3 separate regions of the Homo sapiens genome follow, and regions 1 and 3 are each linked to region 2. Evidence: promoter capture Hi-C in human tissues and cell types (Jung and others, 2019). All regions are on one chromosome and are shown on one strand. The core of a region is centred on a gene start or on the middle of the fragment in contact, and the rest is flanking DNA. Distances in the headings are between cores, read along the strand shown. Region 1 overlaps MSANTD3-TMEFF1 (MSANTD3-TMEFF1 readthrough). Region 2 holds the start of TEX10 (testis expressed 10). Region 3 overlaps MSANTD3-TMEFF1 (MSANTD3-TMEFF1 readthrough).

What was found. Contacts are between HindIII fragments. The study calls those that stand out against the background at their distance.
Region 1: a fragment that was not itself captured here is called in contact with the fragment with the promoter of TEX10 in region 2 in 1 of the 25 tissues and cell types used here (mesenchymal stem cells).
Region 3: a fragment that was not itself captured here is called in contact with the fragment with the promoter of TEX10 in region 2 in 1 of the 25 tissues and cell types used here (dorsolateral prefrontal cortex).

Annotation. Positions count from the first base shown.
Region 1 is chr9:100,512,214-100,516,715 of GRCh38, reverse strand. MSANTD3-TMEFF1 (MSANTD3-TMEFF1 readthrough) reads right to left here. Exons shown (of 10, transcript NM_001198812.1): 4 at 3,383-3,409; 5 at 1-41. TMEFF1 (transmembrane protein with EGF like and two follistatin like domains 1) reads right to left here. Exons shown (of 10, transcript NM_003692.5): 4 at 3,383-3,409; 5 at 1-41. Among named protein-coding and RNA genes, the nearest start is that of TMEFF1, 41 kb to the right of the region's middle. RefSeq lists enhancers at 1,333-1,833, 1,834-2,334. The HindIII fragment of the contact is 4,141 bases long and covers 876-4,502 here.
Region 2 is chr9:100,350,218-100,354,268 of GRCh38, reverse strand. It overlaps TEX10 (testis expressed 10), which reads left to right and starts at 1,327. Exons shown (of 15, transcript NM_017746.4): 1 at 1,327-1,497. LOC105376177 (a long non-coding RNA gene) reads right to left here and starts at 1,219. Exons shown (of 4, transcript NR_188642.1): 1 at 688-1,219; 2 at 174-272. RefSeq lists enhancers at 1,000-1,634, 2,039-2,088 and a silencer at 1,149-1,698. The HindIII fragment of the contact is 15,352 bases long and covers 1-4,051 here.
Region 3 is chr9:100,571,379-100,575,396 of GRCh38, reverse strand. It overlaps MSANTD3-TMEFF1 (MSANTD3-TMEFF1 readthrough), which reads right to left. Exons shown (of 10, transcript NM_001198812.1): 9 at 2,721-2,879. It overlaps TMEFF1 (transmembrane protein with EGF like and two follistatin like domains 1), which reads right to left. Exons shown (of 10, transcript NM_003692.5): 9 at 2,721-2,879. Among named protein-coding and RNA genes, the nearest start is that of CAVIN4, 4.7 kb to the left of the region's middle. The HindIII fragment of the contact is 5,125 bases long and covers 1-4,018 here.

The DNA.
Region 1 (4,502 bases), core at 1,697-4,196, 160 kb before region 2:
GGAGTGTTTTCTGTGAACTTCTGCCCCTGACCCTTCCTCTTCTGTTTAAAAAGAAAAATCAAATTTACAACCAAAAGTTGGGATCCTTTCCAGATATGCTTCATGTTTTCAGCAGTCATTATCCTGTTTCTGAGGAAAATGTACCTGAGCTCTTGAAAACAGTCACTTCCAAAATCTACCAATGCTTGAAGTTCAAAAATGTTGCCAGTACTGAGTACAACATATTTTGTGAGGAAAACAAGTTTTGGTGCTGAAAAATGATCCCTTAAACTATGTAGGCAGAACTACACAGTAGGTTTGATAATGAATTGCTTTTTTAAGAAAAATTACCATATAACACTGAATAAGGGAGAAAGAAAAGAGACAGGAGCAATACATTTAAGTCCTGTGATTACCCTCCTGTTGCAATCAGCCTGTGCAAAGCTGGTCAGCAGATAAGCGCCTGACCACAAAAGAATGTAACTCTCACCTTTTCCTCACATCAGTTTCATACTTGTCTTTCTAACTACATAAAAACTAATTTCAGAGTTTAAAAAAAAATACTTATCTCCAAATTTTAAAATGGAAAAGGGTCTCTTTGTAAAGGACTTTTCTTCTTTTTCTACTTGGTCACTTAGCACAGCCAAAAATATGCAGATACAAAAGTATGCAGGTCTCTTATGCTCCAACGCAAAAGAAAAAAATAAAAACACTAAATACCTCCAGCCCCAAACTCAGCTCACATTCCACACTGAAAGGGCCTTACACTTTGTGGGTCTCAACTAGAGTGGATCATATCCTGATAATCTCAAACTGGCCAGGGAGATCAGTTCTGAAATCAACTTAAGGATTTCAGTTCATTCAAGGGATTTCCCTCGAATTTGGTTTGAAAAAGAGTACTATTCAGGGAGTGTCTTTTTTTTTTGTTTGTTTGTTTTTCAGACGGAGTCTCAGGCTGGAATGCAGTGGCGCAATCTCAGCCTGGATGAATCTCAGCCTGGAGAATCACTTGAACCTCTGCCTCCTGGGTTCAAGTGATTCTCCTGCCTCAGCCTCCTGAGTAGCCAGGATTACAGGTTCACACCACCATGCCCAGCTAATTTTTGTACTTTTAGTAGAGACGGGGTTTCACTATGTTGGCCAGGCTGGTCTTGAACTCCTGACCTTGTGATCCGCCCACCTCAGTCTCCCAAAACGCTGGGATTACAGGCATGAGCCACCACACCCGGCCTCAGGGGGTGTCTTATAATAAAGATAGTGTTAAAAAAGGTACACAAATCTGCCATGCCTGTTTGGTAATGCTTCCGAACTTCTAATTTTTGGTGTCTGCCTGTCCTTAAATAGAAATATTCCCCTAAACTCTCATGAATACTCCCAAACAGATACCAGGGATTATCATCCTAAGTAATTCTGAGGCCCCAAAACATCATAATATTCAGAAATACTACAGTTACCATGAGCTCACTAAGGTCTGTATATTAACTGGGGCAAACCACTTAGCCCTTCTAACTCATGCTCTCAAAAAAAAATTTTTTAAAAATGGTCAACCTACATCCTCAGGGCAAGATATCCAGCATTTTTTGTTTTGTTTTGTTTGAGACAGGGTGCAATGGCGTGATCACCACTCACTGCAGCCTCAACCTCCTGGGCTCAAGCAATCCTCCCGCTTTAGCCTCCAAAGTAGCTGAGACTACATACCACCACACCTGGCTTTTTTAAATTTTTTTATTTTTTTATTTTTTGAGAAGGAGTCTCGCTCTGTCCCCCAGGCTGGAGTGCAGTGGCGCAATCTCAGCTCACTGCAACCTCTGTCTCCTGGGTTCAAGCAATTCTCCTACCTCAGCCTCCTGAGTAGCTGGGATTACAGGCGCCCACCACCACGCCTGGCTAATTTTTGCATTTTTAGTAGAGACGGGGTTTCACCACATTGGCCAGGCTGGTCTCAAACTCCTGACCTCAGGTGATCCGCCCGCCTCGGCCTCCCAAAGTGCTGGGATTACAGGCATGAGCCACTGTGCCCGGCCTTTTGTTTTTTTTTTTTTTTTTGGGGTAGAGACAGGGTCTCACTATGTTGCCCAGGCTGGTTTCAAACTCCTGGGCTCAAGTGATCCTCCCATCTCAGCTTCCCAAAGTTCTGGGATTTTAGGCATGAGCCACTGCGCCCAGCCCAATATTGTATTATATAAGCAAATCTTGAGATCAACTCTCACTTCTTTAATATAGGAACAATGACAATGACAGTTTCCTAACTGAATACCTGACCACAGGGGCTAGACTACATGATCGCCTAAAATCTGTTCCAGCTCTAAGATCTGGAATTTATTATCTGATCCTTCACACCTGATTATAAAGCTTCTGCTTGAACATGTCCATCTACTTCAAATTCTATTGTTTGAAAGCTTTAATCATTTTTTTTTTTTTTAGCTGAAACTGTCATCCTTGAATTTCTCCTCAGGACAGTTCTCCTATTCTCCAGGAGACCTTCAAAGTCCCTTCCAACTCTGAAATTTTAAGATTCTATGAAATGTAGACGTATGGAGTGAGGTTTCAGGCAGTTTTGAAAGGATCATAACTGTAGTTTCCATTTGCATTAAGTGTGAATTGTACTGAAGTGGGTGTTCTTTGGTGTACCCCATAATATCTCAAACATTATTTGGTATACAGTACATACTCATTAAGAATTATAGCCTCATTAGACTATGATATAGATTAGTCAATCTCAATTCTGATCATTTAAACTCCATTATATGCTATTACCAAATATTAATCTTTTAAACAACAGAAATAATTCATATATTTGTAAAATAAAATCAAAAACATAGATAGGAAATTGTTAAAGGTTTAAATTAAACTCTAAATTCCACGAGAGTTGTTGGGCAAGTCTTCCTTTTTCTATGCACAACTCCCTCTGGAGTTTTTAACCCTGTACCATGAAAATTCCTGATGAGCAAAAACTTGAAAGCAAGGTATGGGAAAGAGTTACAAATACTCTGGTCCAAGCTAAAATCACTTGTGGGGATGATGCAACCTCAATTTAACAGAAACTACAACATCTTCCCCTTAGTATGACAATAAACTTCCAGAGAAAAATGCAAGAAACAAGAATGCCTAGAGCTGAGAGGGAGAGTTGGGTTAGGAGTGATGGCTAAGGAGTGCATGGTTTCTTTTTGAGGTTATTAAAATGTTCTAAGAGTGACTGTGGTGATGAATATATAACTCTGAATATCCTAATGAATATATAACTGTGAATTTACTAAAAGTCACTGAATTTGTACACTTCAAGTGGCAAATTATATGGTATGTGAATTATATCTCAAAGCTGATTTAAAAAAAAAAAAAAAAAGAAAAAGAAAGAAAGAAAGAAAGAAAAGCAAATATCCTTTAAGAGGTACTTGAAACTTACCTCCTTCTCCAGATCCAGATCCATTATCTGAGAAGAAAAACAAAGAATGAATATGAACATTTTTCCCGGAAATTTCATCTTATCAAATAATAAAATTTCCTATCAAAAATAAAACTGTGATATCCATTCTCAAAGAGTCCTTTTCTCATATTTTTGATATCTTATTTATTCTTACATACTTATTTTATGCTGCTCTTAAAATATAAATTGCTTAGATACATAATCATCTATATTTCATACATCTTTGTATCCCATTAAGGACATACCCAGATGCTTTGCACAGAGTAAAGACAATAAATACTGTAAAGTAAAAGGCTAAATATAAATAATTAATTTTAATCCACTCATTTAAAAGATAAGAGAAAATTTTAGTTTTTGTTAAAGCTTGAGAGAAATAATGAATAAGCTGCTTTTATTAGAAAGGCAGGAAAAGAGCTTTGGGTCTTACTACAAAAAAAAAAATCTTCTTAAGGAAATCTGCGGATAAAGACCAAAAGCCAAAAGGTAAGAAAAGCCCCAAGGTTTAGGAAGCAAGGAACCAAAGGCTTGAGGTTTTCATGTTACTAATAAAATTAACTTCCTCTAGGAAATCCAATCCGAAGGACTTACCTGACTTGTCGCTAGTGAAATTAAAAAGAGCCTTCATCAAAGTTACCAGAAAGAAGCCAGTCTCAAGTACAATTAATGTAAAATATTTATTCTATAATCCTAAAGGAACCAACATATTAGCACAGAACATGTTGAAAAGAGGGTAATGATGTAAAATCATCAGCACAGAGTCATTTTAAAAAGCAGAGAGAGCAAGTGAGGAATTTGATGCTTTATCTAGCACTTGCCAGGGGAGAGGATACCCTGGATCCTAAAGAACCCATGCTAGCTCTCCAAATTGTCCTCTAGAGCAGAAAACAACACTCAGAACAATATTGTTCCCTTCCCTTCAAGCTCCTTCGGACAATAATCAAATTCCCAGATACCACAGAAACAGGAGGAATTAGAAAAATATATATTGTATGCAGTACCCATTGTAAAATCTTCATGGGATTTTATGGAAAGTCTTAAATTATGTTCAATTTTGATTAATCAACCACAAAATGACATTTTCTCTGAGTAAATAAGGAGG
Region 2 (4,051 bases), core at 78-2,577:
AAGAAGCGGCTTGGACCAGAATGGTAGCAGGGGAGGTGTGTTAACTGGTGAAAGTTAGGATGTCTTTAAAGGTAGAGTCAATCTCCAGATGGATTAGATGTGAGGTGTGGAACAAAGAGGCCAAACCAAAAACCCAAAGGTTTCTGCTTGAGTAACTGCAAGGACAGACTTACTATTTGAGATGAATAAGCTGTAGGAAGAGTAGATTTCAAGGGGAAAATCATCAGTAGCTCTGTTTTGGACAAGTTGACCTTGAGATGTATACTGGATATCTGAAGGAAACATTGAAAAAACTGTTGGATACAAGTTTGGAGTTCCAGGGACTTGTCTGGTTGGCAATAAATCTTTCCTCTTCTGATCTAGTCTCATAGCTTTAAACAGAATATAATGCCACATAATGCCAATGACTCCCAAATATTTATGGTTATGGTCGATTCCAGGCAGATTGTGGTGATGTGGCCATATTGCCAGCAAAGGGAGGTCAGGGTTTCTAGCGCTGCCTCTTTATCTCCGATTATGGAACAGGCATGGTTTTAGTTCCAGTGCTTGGGTCTCCCTGGATTTAGACATCATTCCTTTGAATTCCCACCCAATATAATGAGGGTCAATATCTTCGCTAGCTTTACTAAGTCTTAATTATCTGGTGAGGTGTAGACACAAATTTGAATCAAGGTCTGAAGTCCTTACCTGGGGCTCTTTCTTCCATGCCATCATGCCAGTCTTTGTGAAGACATTTTTCAAAGGCTCATTCTTCTTACCTCTTTTCTAGGAATTTTAGTTTATTTCTTTACTTAACTTCAGAAATTAATTTCTCACTTCATTTTAGTAGCAGGAATGTTAGTGCTGAGAAACTGAGATGTTAGGGAGAATCCTTGACCAAGACTTCCAGGCTCTAGATACTAGGTGTGTCTTGCTCTAATTAAGGAAATCTTATCTGCTCCATCTTAGCCCAGTTTAACGTCCCCAGGAATTCCATCTTCTGCAGTCCTAAACTTTTCCCTTTTTCAATTCAGTGCAACTTATACTCTTCTCTGAAAGTGGCTCCAGGTCTGAAGAACTGTGGTCTGGGAGGAATAGAAAAGCATGCTCAGCTATAACCAGGCCCACATCCCCTAAGTTGCCTGCCCACCAAGTTACGGGCCGGACTTATGCGCCACGCTTTGTCCGGGGACCTCGCGCTGTCCTCCCTCCGGTTCCCACAGAGCAGGGGGCTTCCGGCGGGGTACCCTCCTCTGTGGGCGGGGCCTACCGCTCCCGCTCCCGCCTCCCCGGTTGCGCGCGGCTGCGGGCTGCGATCACGTGAGCACAGCAGGGAGGGGGAGGGGCCCTGATTTCCGGGCGGCGGAAGGAGACGCGGCCGCGTGAGGACGAGGCTATTTGAAAACACGCTCCGGGAGCTAGAGCCTGAGGTCGGCGGCGCACGCTGTTGCCCCGTGGGCTTCTGCTCCCTCGCTTGTCTTCTCGGGCTTCTCGCCCCGGCCGCGGCCGGGTCCTCAGGTAAGCGGCCGTCGCCCGTCGGGCCGGGTCCTCCCGGGGCGCGGGACTGAGCGTGGTGGGGCCGTCGCCCCCCGATCCGCGGCCCAAGCGGGCAGGGTCGGCCGTGCACGATTTGCGTCCCCCGGGTCTGGGCCGCGGCGTCCCTCCGAGCTGGGCCTGGGTGTGCGGCCGGCACTGCGGGGGCGGGACCCCCTAGGGCGTTTGCGGAGCTTCAGGTGACTGGGCGGGTTCGCCTGGTTTCGGGTCCGAGAGAGTTTTAGCCCGGAGTGTGTGAATCGGGCCCCACTTCCCCGACTCTGGTCCTGGCCGGCGTCCCTTGGAGTAGGAGGAACGATGGTTTCCTAAAACCCATGGTGTGTTCGCCTCTGGGATGGATGCAGGACCGAATACGGAGTGGGGATGAGCTGGCGTCCCCTGTTCCGTCCTCTGGTCGCCCAGGCGGGAGAGTTAAGCGAGCGGAAGGGGACTACCAGTTTTCTGGGGTCGCCCCTGCCTGGGCCATTTGCTTTTTGGGAAGTCTGTCGCCTCTGGTTGGCCCCTCAGTGGAGTTTGGAGGAACTCATGAGTTTAAGGGTTTGGGGAGGAAATTATCAAAGGCCGAGTGCAGTACGATCGTTCTCTCTGATTTTTTTTGGAAAAGAAGGTGGAAATGAGGAAGGGTAAGAAGGTGGCAGGCAAACTATTTATAGTTGGAATTTAGTTCGATTGAAATCCTAAAAACGCTAGGATCTGCCTTTTGTTGGAATTAGAAAAGACCTACAGTAGGAATGTGTGACATTCAGCTTTGAAACTATTGGGGATCGCAAACCTAAGGACTAGTGATGTGAGCTCCTCCTCTGAGACTGGCGTTCCTACCTTTTGCTAAAAACCGGCTACTGTAAAAGTGGCTTAGTGGGACTTTTTGATTTGCTGTGTTATGAAAATCTTTGTTATAAGTTAAAGTCAATTACTAGTAGAACTTTGAGAGTTCTTCGCATGAAAATGCTTTGTATCCCGTAATAATATTACTAGGTTTGAAAAGTCAAGGAAGGTCAATCAGCCTTCTTAATTTTCCTAACAGAGAAAGCATTAATGTGACTAATACAAAGCGATAGATAATATGGCATGAAGTTGACAGTAGACTGTTGAAGATCTATCAGGTGGTTAATGGCTAAATAGAACCCACAGGAGTGGAGGAGGAAGGGAGTTAATTTTTCTGAATGTCCTGTACCATTTACTTTCGTGTCTAGTACCAGCTAGTAATAAAATTGTAGGAAAAGCTCACAAAGTGTGCTTGCTTAATTAATGAAAACCATTTTTGTATTAAAAGAGGCCAGGTGAGTATCATGGCCTTCTTTTTAGGCCTTATTCCCTCCCACCCACCCACCCACCGACCCCCAGCTTTTTTTTTTGTTTTGTTTTGTTTTTTAAGACTAAGGTAACTAGAGGTGTGGGTGAGATGAAAATTTGGTAATAGGGACAAATGAAATAAGCCAAACTGTTTTGCCACGAAGACTTCCAGTCTTCAGGTTAATTCTGGTATGTTAAAGGTGGTTTTGCAGAGCTCAGTTCTGTGAATGAATCCCTTTTCAACTTCTTGATAAAGGCGTGACTTCCAAACTTTTCTGAGGTACATTGTTAAAATGGGTTTAGTTCCACCTACCTTGCATGGTTCTGTGCAGATTGTATACTGAGGTACACAATGCATCTAGTACCGGGCTTGGTATGTCCTGATCCTGAGACTTGAGGGACACGCACATGTTTATGCTTTGAGCATACGTATTTAACCATGTACCAGGCACAGTTCTGAGTGTTTTACAATTGTGTATGATTATCCCTATTTTGTAGATAGAAATTGGGACAGTGTACAGCTGGAAGGCGTCAGAGTTTGGATAAAAGCCTAATCAATCTGGTTGTAGAATTGGTTCTTAACCTGTGGGAAATCCTACCTCATGGCGATCTAATATAACCCTGTAATTAAGTAAATTTGGATATATTGTCATAGCTGATTGGCTTCTGAATTCCTTGAACTTGAGCTGTTCAGTATTGCACTGGCCATTTTATTAATATTGTAATAAAGGAAACTTTCGTTTTACCCATTTTTTTATACCCTCATGTGTAGCATTGTCACTTTTTATGGCCAGGCACAGGATAATTATGATAAACCAGGAGATTAGCAGAAGTTTTATATATTCCAGAGGTACTTACCCTATTCAAGTGGTGTACAGTATTGTTCTCAGGTGTGGAAAAGGCTTCAAGAAGAATTTAGCTGGTTCCAGGTAGAAGAGGCTATTGTTTTAGATAGAGATTAGCTTGTGGGAAGATAAAGCTGGAGAGGATGGATGGGGCCACATTAGGAAGGACCTCATATGTCCTGCTAAGGAGGTTTTACTATGTATGAGGAATAGAACAGCTGAGAACTCTTGAGTCTTGGTCATGAGATCTGTGTTCAGAGAGAGCTGTTTCGTAAAGGGCCAGTGGACTAGAGAGGAGACACTAGATAGTAGGCAGGAGTACCAGTGGGGAAGGTATTGAATGGTAGAAATAAAGGACTTCTTGAAAGTAGTGGCCTGGA
Region 3 (4,018 bases), core at 1,036-3,535, 220 kb before region 2:
TGGTTTTTAAATCCATAAAATCAGGGCGTTTAGTTAAGGTGATGTTCAAGGTTCCTGACAATCTGTCATTCTATGAGTCTGAAAATATGAAAGGCGATTCCAAGAAGAAGAAAAAAAGAAAAATTGACTCATGCAGTCTTGATAAACAGGTCAGTGGGAACATCCTTTTAAAGAAGATTCCTCCCATGTGACAGCCGCCACGGTATATGTCAACAGCTGTCTCATAATGGACTGTGTGGGAGAGATACTTAAAAACTCAATGGAAATAAATCCAAGTACATAAATGTTCTAAATCCAAGATAGCAAGACATTCTAGGGGAGGAAATACCATAATAAAAAGACAGGCCTCCAGGAGAAATCTGTGATAAATTCAATGAGATGACTCTTCAATCGTAGAGACAGTGGGCAGTAAAGACACTGTGACATAGTTAGAAATACACTGTGATGTCTAAGTGGCTGTGAGGGCAACAAGGAGGGATCTGGAGTATAAACTAGAGGGTACCTACTTCAAAACTGCCTGCCAGGTAATTTTAATTGAGTAGTTGAGCATTATAGCACTGAAAGAGTTGGGTAAAAGACTGTTGTAAGGGGGCTTTCCTAGCTCTAGGACCTTAGACCAAGGTACTTCTTATCTCAGGGCTTCAGTTTCCCAACTTCTCTAAATGAAGGGGTTGAACTCAGAATTGTTTCTCATTGACTCTGACATCCTTTGATCCTCTTAAAAATGGCACTATCTGGCTGGGCACAATCCCAGCACTTTGCGAGACCGAGGCAGGTGGATCACTTGAGCCTAGGAGTTGAAGACCAGCCTCGGCAACATGGCCAAACCCAGTCTCTACAAAAAAAAAAATACAAAAATTAGCAAGGCATGGTGGCGCATGCCTGTAGTCTCAGCTACTCGGGAGGTTGAGATAAGCCCAGGAGGTGGAGGTTGCAATGATCCAAGATCATGCCACTGCACTCCAGCCTGAATGACAGAGTGAGACCCTGTCTCAAATAAAGGCACTATCTCCAGGCCTCAAACATCTCCCCTTACTTTACCTTAATTTTCCTTCTGCCTTCCAAATCATTCATTACCTCACTCCTATTTAACTCTAATAATGACTTAAATGGTCTTCCCCCTACCTCATATGTTCACTACTCCAATGAATTTTTCAGATGACTCATTAATACTCTGAAAAATATGGTTTATACCAAGTCCTTCCCCTGCTCAAAAACCCTAAACTGCTACAAAATCAAGTTTGAACCCTGCTCCCATGCAATGGTCATACTGGGCAAACATGTTTCCCAAGATGACTCAACATGGAACCTTTCAGTGTAAAGAATGAATGGGAATCAAACTGAATCCAAATCCAGACAATTCCACTTACTAGTCGGATGACCACAGACAAATTACTTAACCTCTGAGTCTATATTAAATGGCTACAGCCAGTCATGCTGTTAAATGTGTTTTCCCTATCTTCTCTTTCTGTTATCATTATTTGTTACATGATTATGTCCCTACTTTGATCTACCGTCCAATTTTATATTCAGTAGTCTTGCCTAAGGGCAGATCATCTGTTCTGTGAAATAAAGCGCACTGACTTTCATGCCTAGGTGTTATGAAAAATATCTGTTACTTGGAGAACCTTTTCTTTTTTATCATTTCTAGATTTATCATCTCAGCTCCAGATGGCTGAGACTACTGAAGGTCTGGCTTCTATCCAGACCTTGGATAGAAGGGCCACAAATCCATTATGGCCTGCCAATATCTGTATTTGATATGCTTCAACCCTCTGCCCAGAATAATGCAGGGAAGTGGAGAAATGATGCTTATGAGACTTCTGAACTGAAGCTTAAAGAAAGAGGTAAGCAGGAAGAAAAGCATTAGACTGGGAAGCACAAAGACAACACGAACTTGCTGGATTTACTCTGACTTTTCTCAGGCCCAGTTCAGTCTGACTTATGTATTTCTACTCAGTTTAGAAAAGACCCATTTTATGCCACTGCACTCCAAATAAGTCATTTAATTTATGACGAATAATTTTATTTATAATACAGAATTTTAAAGCTTATTACTTATCGCTGCAATCCTGAAAATGAAGTAATGTTAACACCATGATATCACAATAAAACTATCTTCAGCCTCTGATTTCTTCCTTTCTTACTATACTAACTGTGAGTAAAGTACGTTCTTAGGGCACAGAACCCCTTGCAGTTGTGCAGGGCTTAAAAATCTTCTGCATGGATCTCCTATGCATGTGCAGATCATTCTAGAAATTCTGAGCCAGTCAGGGTGGTTCACGCCTATAGTCTCAGCTACTCTGGAGGACCACTTGAGCCCAGGAATTTGAGGCTGCAATGAGCTCTAATTGCTACTGCACTCCAGCCTGGGCAACAGAGTGAGGCCCTGTCTCTTAAAAAAAAAAAAAAAAGATTGCTACTAACATTATTTTCCCAGAATACAGTGTTCAAAGACTGTATACAGTTCTCAGATCCCTAAATTCCTTTATCTCATTGACTATTCTCATTCCCTCTCTGCTTGTCGCCCAGATATACCTGTAAGACTGGGAATTAGTCCCTGCCCGTATCCTAAAGAAGAAGGATAGGGAGAGACCACTGAAAACCTCAGGGAACTGATCATAAGATTTTTCCTAATAGACTGGTGGCCTCAAAGCATCTATAAATAAACAGTTGCCTGCCTCTAATTTAAAGTTGATATTTCTTACATCATTACCTACCTTGTTATGCACATTACAATTGCTACTATGATGGCAATCTGTACAGCTCCAATAATTGCTGCAATAAGAACATGAGTGAGCTTTTGCCTACTTGGCACTACATAGAGAATACTAAAGTCTGTCTTTTCACAGTGCTGTCCAGTGTAGCCAGATTCACATCTGAAAAGGAAAAATATATATATTCCTATGAAAATTACAAATTTTGATACTCCCAAGCTTTTACATTAAAAAATACAAAATAGTAATAAAATTTAAACAGGAATAGGATATCATGCACTTTCCTACCATCTGGGGGAAAAATGTCATTTGTATGTTTCCCTACTGTCTTTCTGATATGCCTACATGGTGCGTCTTTCACCTAAGTTATATCACATTAATTTTAAAGTTGCTGAATATTGTTAATGTATATCTTTTTTTGTTATTGTTGCTTTTGCTTTTGGTGTCATATCTAAGAAATTATTGCCTAATCTAAAGCCACAAAGATTTACTCCTTTTTTTCACTTTTTAAATTAAATTTGCTTAAAAATTGACAAATAAAATTACGTATATTTATCATGTACAACAGGGATCCCCCCCAACTCCCGGGCCATGGACAGATATTGGTCCATGGCCTGTTAGGAACCAGGCCACACAGCAGGAGGTGAGTGGTGGGCAAGTAAGCAAAGCTTCTTTGTATTTACAGCTACTCCCCATCACTCACATTACCACCCAAGCTCCGCCTCCTGTCAGATCAGCACTGGCATTAGATTCTCATAGGAGCGCAAACCCTATTGTGAGCTGCGCACACAAGGGATCTAGGTTGAGTGCTCCTTATGTGAATCTAATGCCTAAGGATCTGTCACCGTCCCCCATCACCCCCAGATGGGACTGTCTAATTGCAGGAAAAACAAGCTCAGAGCTCCCACCAATTCTACATTATGGTGAGTTGTATAATTATTTCATTAAGTATTACCATGTAATAATAATAGAAATAAAGTGCACAATAAATGTAATGCACTTGAATCATCCCCAAACCATCACCCCCACCCCCAATCCCCAGTCCATGGAAAAACTGTCTTGTACGGAACTAGTCCCTGGCAACAAAAAGGTTGGGGACCACTGATGTACAACATGATATTTGGAAATGTATAGACATTGTGGAATGGCTAAATCAAGCTAATTAACATATGCATTACCTCATATAGTTATCATGTCTGTGGTGAGAACACTTAAAATCTACTCTCTTAGCATTTTTTTCAAAATAGATACATATAATTTCAAAACAGAAATATAATACTCCATCCAGTGACTATAATATA